2 separate regions of the Homo sapiens genome follow, and region 1 is linked to region 2. The links are contacts of gene promoters, found by promoter capture Hi-C in blood cells and fetal thymus (Javierre and others, 2016). All regions are on one chromosome and are shown on one strand. The core of a region is centred on a gene start or on the middle of the fragment in contact, and the rest is flanking DNA. Distances in the headings are between cores, read along the strand shown.

Region 1 (3,018 bases), core at 362-2,861, 170 kb before region 2:
CCTGGGTGACAGAGTGAGATCCTGTCAAAAAAAAAAAAAATCTGCAAAACCAAAAATTATTTCACAAGAACTTTGAACTTGTGAAATTCTTTCACAAACAACTGGTTTCTTTCCCCTCTCCAGCTATTCTCTCACAGCATAGTTCATATATAGGTGCTTCCCACAGAGTAAACTCTGCCTGTGATGTTGTCCCGTTCTTCCAGGTCCGTGGGCTGCTGGACACCCTGGTGACTGACCTGATGGTCCTGGCTGATGAGCTCAGCCCCATAAAGAATGTCGAGGAGGCTTTGCGCCTCTGCAGGTGACTCTCGGGCCCAAGCAACCTTCTGGAAAACGGGTTAATAAATAAATCAATAAAGAACCTTCAAGTTTCTACTACTTCCGTGTGCCTCTGTGTCTTGCATGATGGATCTTGGCTAGGTCAGCTCCTGATCCAGGTCCTCCCATGTTCCACCTGCCCTCAGATCCCCTCCTGCCAGCTGCCAGAGCCCTCCTGCAGGAGGACAGACAGACATAGCTGGGGAAGTGATGTGTGGGATGCCAAGCAGAGGAGCAGATTGGTAGCAAGACAAGGAGTCAGGTGACAGGACAGTGTGTCACCTCTGGTAGTCCCTGCCTCTGGCTTCCTTGGCCCACACTTTCAGGGTCGTGCTTCCTGGAGCCAGGTCTTCCCGAAGTGTCATCACCAAGTATGACAAAGTGTGAGATGAGGAGTAGAACTAGACCCATGGGACCTGGCTCCCTGCCATCTCCCCTCTTCAGCTGGGTCCCAGGGCCCCAATTCAGTCCCTGAAGATCATGCTCACCACACCTCTTCAGCTCTAGAGGCCACATCACCTTGTTATTTCGGGGTCTAGTCTGCCTTATCCCCCTCCTCATCTCAAACTATCTGGCCTTGAGCCATCTTTCTGCCTTAAAAACAGCTGCTGATCTTCATGCTACCTCCCTTGCTCAGGGGAACATGAAACAGGCTAGAAATGGCTCTCAGAAAAAAAGGTATTGTCAGCTCAAACTCAGGCCCCTCATTGTCTTCTGTCAGTCATAACCATTTGGGGCTGGGCTCCCTGTGTGAAGAGCACTCCAGGCTCCCAGAGTTTGAAGAACAACTTTGGTTTTTGGGTGGGTGGGCATCCTTAAGTGGGCCTCAGGCATCCTCCAGCTGAGATGCAGGAGGGGGAGGATGGACAGAAGGATCTGACTCCGTGTGGGAAAGGCAGGGAGGGGGCTGTGCTGGAGTCCTGATGCTCTCCTCCCCAAGAAGACGAGAAGACGGGGGCTCCACCAAAGAGCCAGCCCCAGGGAATGTCCCTGCCCTCTCCTTTAATGTCCTCCCGGCCCAGAGGAGGAAGGGGAGGGGTGTGGTGGGGGTGTTGGAGCCCCCCTCCTTTCCTGTTGAAGAGGCAGGGGAAGGGTTAACTCAAAGCAGAGGGGATCAGGTCGCCAGCACTGGCTCCAGATGTGCACTTCCTGGGGGCGGCCAACAGGCAGGCCCCCCACCTCTCAATGCACCACTTGCCTGGCCAGCAGGAAGGGGTTAACCTGCCCTGCACTTCCTCCTGTGTCCTGTTACTGCTGAGGCAGACCTGCCGGGCCAGCTGAGCAACTTTCCTCGGAGTGCTGCCTGGCGCTGGCTAGGAGGCAAACGCACGCGGGAAGAGCTGCTACCCATTCCAGGGACCCTGCCGCTGCCCCTCTGAGGGGTCTGCACCTCCTGGGAGCAGGTGGGTCTCTGGGACGAGGGTCCATGGTGGATGGCTCTGGAGACGCTCCCGAGGCTGTGCCGTCCCGCTGCTGCACAGGTCGGAGGGTCACCGCAGAGGCTACTCGGGCTGGGGCTGGGGCCGAGGGAGCCCGCACTGGAGGTAAGCTTCCTCCCTGGCCCCCTCCCTGGCAGTGGCGGCATGGAAGGCGGGGGTTGGTGGGGAGCAAACAGTGGTTCTGGGGCTTAGTCTCTTTTCCAGGTGCGAGGGAGAAGGCTGAGCTGTAGAGGACCTAAAGGCTTCTTTCCTGCCACCCCTCCCTCCCTGCCGCCCCCAAAAAGGGACTCAGGGCCCCCTCCCCAACCATCCTGGGACTTAGCATCTTTGGTGGCATCTTAGCATCTTTGGTGGCATTCCCCACAGACTCCTTCTGCACATCTCTGCTGTTTCCTCTTCTTCAGCCCCTCATGCACACCTCTAGCCTCAGGGCAGTCCCCCCTCCCCCATCTTCTGTGCTCCCGGGATGCAGCTATTACAGTGGCCAGAAGCTTAGAGTTCAAGCTCACCCCCTGTCCCTTACAGCATCAAGAAGGGCACTGTCATTCCCCACTGCTCAGGCTGGATCTGACTTGGAGGCAGGGGCTGGAGCCCACCTTAGCAGAGGACGGGAAGAGGGTGTGGGCTGGGCTGGTGGGTGCACAGACTTTACGCAAACTCATGCACGTGTGACTGGACAGATCTGGGTTCTCTCCATCTCTCCGAAACCCTTGCTGGGGATGAGCGATCTGCATTTTTCGGTCCTGACTTTTGGGAAACTCTCCAGATCCCCCCATCCTGCAGGCCCTGAGAAGAGCAGCCCCTCCCTACTGCGCAGTTCTCCTTGGGACCCTGTATGCAGGAGAGAGCTGATACTCCGTGCCCCGTGGCCCATCCCACCGCCTGCTGGCCCTGCTCCCATCCCCTCAGCTTCCTCCCTCCTCTGCCCTCTCGTCATCTCTGAATTCTCAGGCCCTGCCCTCTCTGTGCCCTTCCCTCCACCTGACAGGGTCTGGCTCAAGGTCACTGCAGTAATTCCATACCCAGCTGCCCAGGGCTGCTGCTGCTACCGCCACCGCCTTATCGGCCGCTGGGTTTCTGTTACACTCCCTTTTATTTCTGGGCATATCGTGTTCGATAAAACCCTTTGCTTGTAACACTGCTGGCAGCGCTCCCAGCTGCTCCCTCCCGCGTTCCCGCGTTCCTTCCTTTCCTCCTCCCTTCTCTGCGCTTGGGCAGGCTTCTTCCTTTCCTCCTCCCTTCTCTGCGCTTGGGCAGGCTT
Region 2 (3,213 bases), core at 78-2,577:
TTAATATTTACTGAATGGGCCAGGCACGGTGGCTCACACCTGTAATCCCAGCACTTAGGGAGGCCAAGGCAGGTGGATCACTTTAGGTCGGGAGTTTGAGACCAGCCTGCCCAATAGGGTGAAACCCCATCTCTACTAAAAATACAAAAATTAGTGTGATGGTGCATGTCTGTAATCCCAGCTACTGGGGAGGCTGAGGCAGGAGAATTGCTTGAACCCAGGAGGTGGAGGTTGCAGCGAGCCAAGATTGTGCCACTGCACTTCAGCCTGGGCAACACAGCAAGACTCCATCTCAAAAAAAAAAAAAGTACCAAATGAGTAAACTAAGGATAAAGTGGACCTTGCTTGAAGTAGAAGGATCCAATCTACCCTTGATTCTGGGCAAACTGGAACCTTGAGTGTGTTTGTGTGTGGATGTCTGTGGCACAGGCTTAAAAAGTGAACAATTATAATGATAAGTGAGCCCTCAAAAATGAATGAAGCATGATGAGAAAAATATGCTCCCTTTTGGAAATAAAATGCTCACTTGCTAGTAGTAGATCACTTGTTCGTGGCAAGCTTGAGAGTAAAGGAGGTAATTTACTACCAGTGGGTCTGAGAGACTCTGGGACAAACCAACTTGCTAAACTACCACCCATGTAAAGCAGGGTTAAGTCAACATAGCGTGGCCCCCACAGCCCTGTGCCTTAGTGATCATCATTTACCGTCCAGAGCTGTGCGGCTCTGGGCAGCCATAACTCAGAGCCCCTGCAGCCAGGTAATATTTTCAAGTTCTTCATGAACCAAGGGTTATGCATGACACTTGAATTACAACTGATGTGGGGGAATGATTAGTGATCAATCTAATTGATAGATTACTCTATCTTTGAACTTCAACTCCTTAAGCTTTACATTTGCAGTCAAAATATCTTATTAGTGTCAGAAACTATTTCAGACCTGAGGCACTGGGTGTCATTCATCAACAGGGCATCACTCATTGGTGCTGAAATTGTGATTACTGAGCAACTAAGACTTGAAAGCAGTCACCATTCTGCTTTGCAAATGCAAGAGAGTACGTTTTTTTGAGGGTAACCTTATATTCCATTATCTAGCATATTGCTTCATAATAAGAAAACAACAACAATGGCTAATACAGGTATAATGCTTTACGTGTTGGACATTGTTCTAAAGGCATTACATGTATTAACTTATTTAATCCTCTAAACCCATGAGGTAATACTACTGTCAACATTCCCCCCATTTTACAGAAGAGGAAACAGACATCAGCAAATAAATAAGCAAAGCACGCAGTACGCTAGGTGGTGATGAAGTATGACAGCAATAGTAAAGCAGGGAAAGGCATTAGGGAATGACAGAGGTTGGAAAGGGGCATTGTGCAACTTTAAATTGAGGGCCCAGGAAAAGCCTTGCCAAGAAGGTGACATCTAAACTAAAATCTGAAGGTGGTGAGGAAGCAAACCATGTGATATCTGGAGGGAAAGCATTTAAGAGAGTGGGAAGACAAAACGCAAAGATCTTGAATCAGGACTGTCTGGTATTCCAGAGAAAGCAAGGAGGCCAGGGGAAAAAGGTAAGCAGAAGGGCAAATCCCATGAGATTAGCACAGAGGTAAGGAGGGAAGATGTGGGGACAGGAAGTAGAAATTGTAGGACCCTGTAGGCTTTTACTGAGTGAGATAGGAGCCATTTTTGAGCAGAGTGAAATGATCTGACTTATGTTTTAAGTCAGGATCCCTCTGACCACTGTGTTAATTAAGAAGACTGTATGATATAAGCTTAGGAGCAAGGACACTAGTAGGAGGCTATTGTAATAATCCAAGCAAGAGAAACAATGGTGGCTTTGTATCAGAGGTGTAGTGGTAGGGTTAGTGAGAAGTAGTCAGATTCTGACTGTATCTGAAGGTGGAGCTCATAGAATTGGCTGACTGGATGTCGGCTATGAAAGACAGGAGGCAAGCAGGAGGCAAGCAGGGTGCCAAGGGTTCTGGCCTGAGCACTCCTGAGAGGCTGAGGACTCAGAGGAGCAGGCTTGAGGTGGTAGAGGGATGAGGGGAGACTTGGAATTCAATCTTGGACATGTTGAGTTTGAGGGGCCTATTAGACAGTTCCTCCAATTAAATCTACAAGAGGCCGGGCGCGGTGGCTCACGCCTATAATCCCAGCACTTTGGGAGGCCGAGGCGGGCAGATCACCTGAGGTCAGGAGTTCGAGACCAGCTTGGCTAACATGGTGAAACCCCATTTCTACTAAAAATACAAAAAACTAGCCAGGCGTGGTGGCACACACCTGTAATCCTAGTTACTTGGGAGGATGAGGCAGGAGAATCGCTTGAACCCAGGAGGTGGAGGATGCAGTGAGCTGAGATCACGCATTGCACTCCAGCCTGGGTGACAAGAGTGAAACTCCATCTCAAAAAAAAAAAAAAAAAAAAAAACCTATAAGAAGCCTCTTCAGGCTACCTCAGAATCACTTCACTAAACACCTCCTATGGGGCAGACATTGTGTTTAGGAGGGTAGGTCTGGCATCAGATACCAGGTTTGTTTTCTGGCTCCACTAGTTACTGTCAATCCTATGACCTTGGGAAGGGGCACTGTGAAAAGTGAGGAAACAACTTACGGTTTCTGGGCCTCAGTTTCTTCATCTGTAAATGGAGAGAACAGTAACTATGTCCCCAGGTAGTTGTGAACAAGCTAACACATGTAAAACACTTAGAACCCTATCTGAGCTGGCCGGGCACGGTGGCTCACGCCTGTAATCCCAGAACTTTGGGAGGCAGAGTCAGGCGGATCACAAGGTCAGGAGATCGAGACCATCCTGGCTAACACGGTGAAACCCCATCTCTACTAAAAATACAAAAAATTAGCCGGGCGTGGTGGCGGGCACCTGTAGTCCCAGCTACTCGGGAGGCTGAGGCAGGAGAATGGCGTGAACCCAGGAGGCAGAGCTTGAAGTGAGCCAAGATGGCACCTGGCACCACTGCACTCCAGCCTGGGCGAGAGTGCGAGACTCTGTCTCAAAAAAAAAAAAAAAAAAAAGAACCCTATCCTATCTGTGCTGCAAAGCAAGTTCAATAAATGTTAGCTATTTATGCTTCATCTCATTAAGGGCTCACAATACTCTTCTGGAACAAGTAGAAAATGAAGCATCTCAGGCAAAGTCCCATAGCTAGGCAGGAATGGAGGAGAACCTGCAGGAAAGACCAGGCTCCTTCTA

The links. The method cuts DNA at HindIII sites, captures the fragments that hold promoters and counts their contacts. A CHiCAGO score of 5 or more calls a contact.
Region 1: the fragment with the promoter of EPN3 here is called in contact with a fragment that was not itself captured in region 2 in 7 of 17 cell types (endothelial precursors, M1 macrophages, megakaryocytes and 4 more); the score reaches 14.7 in endothelial precursors.

Annotation. Positions count from the first base shown.
Region 1 is chr17:50,531,124-50,534,141 of GRCh38, forward strand. It overlaps EPN3 (epsin 3), which reads left to right and starts at 1,612. Exons shown (of 10, transcript NM_017957.3): 1 at 1,612-1,862. It overlaps MYCBPAP (MYCBP associated protein), which reads left to right. Exons shown (of 19, transcript NM_032133.6): 19 at 204-378. The coding sequence ends at 305. RefSeq lists an enhancer at 2,478-3,018. The HindIII fragment of the contact is 5,271 bases long and covers 1-1,865 here.
Region 2 is chr17:50,702,106-50,705,318 of GRCh38, forward strand. All of the region lies in intron 1 of ANKRD40 (ankyrin repeat domain 40), which reads right to left. Among named protein-coding and RNA genes, the nearest start is that of ANKRD40, 4.2 kb to the right of the region's middle. The HindIII fragment of the contact is 889 bases long and covers 884-1,772 here.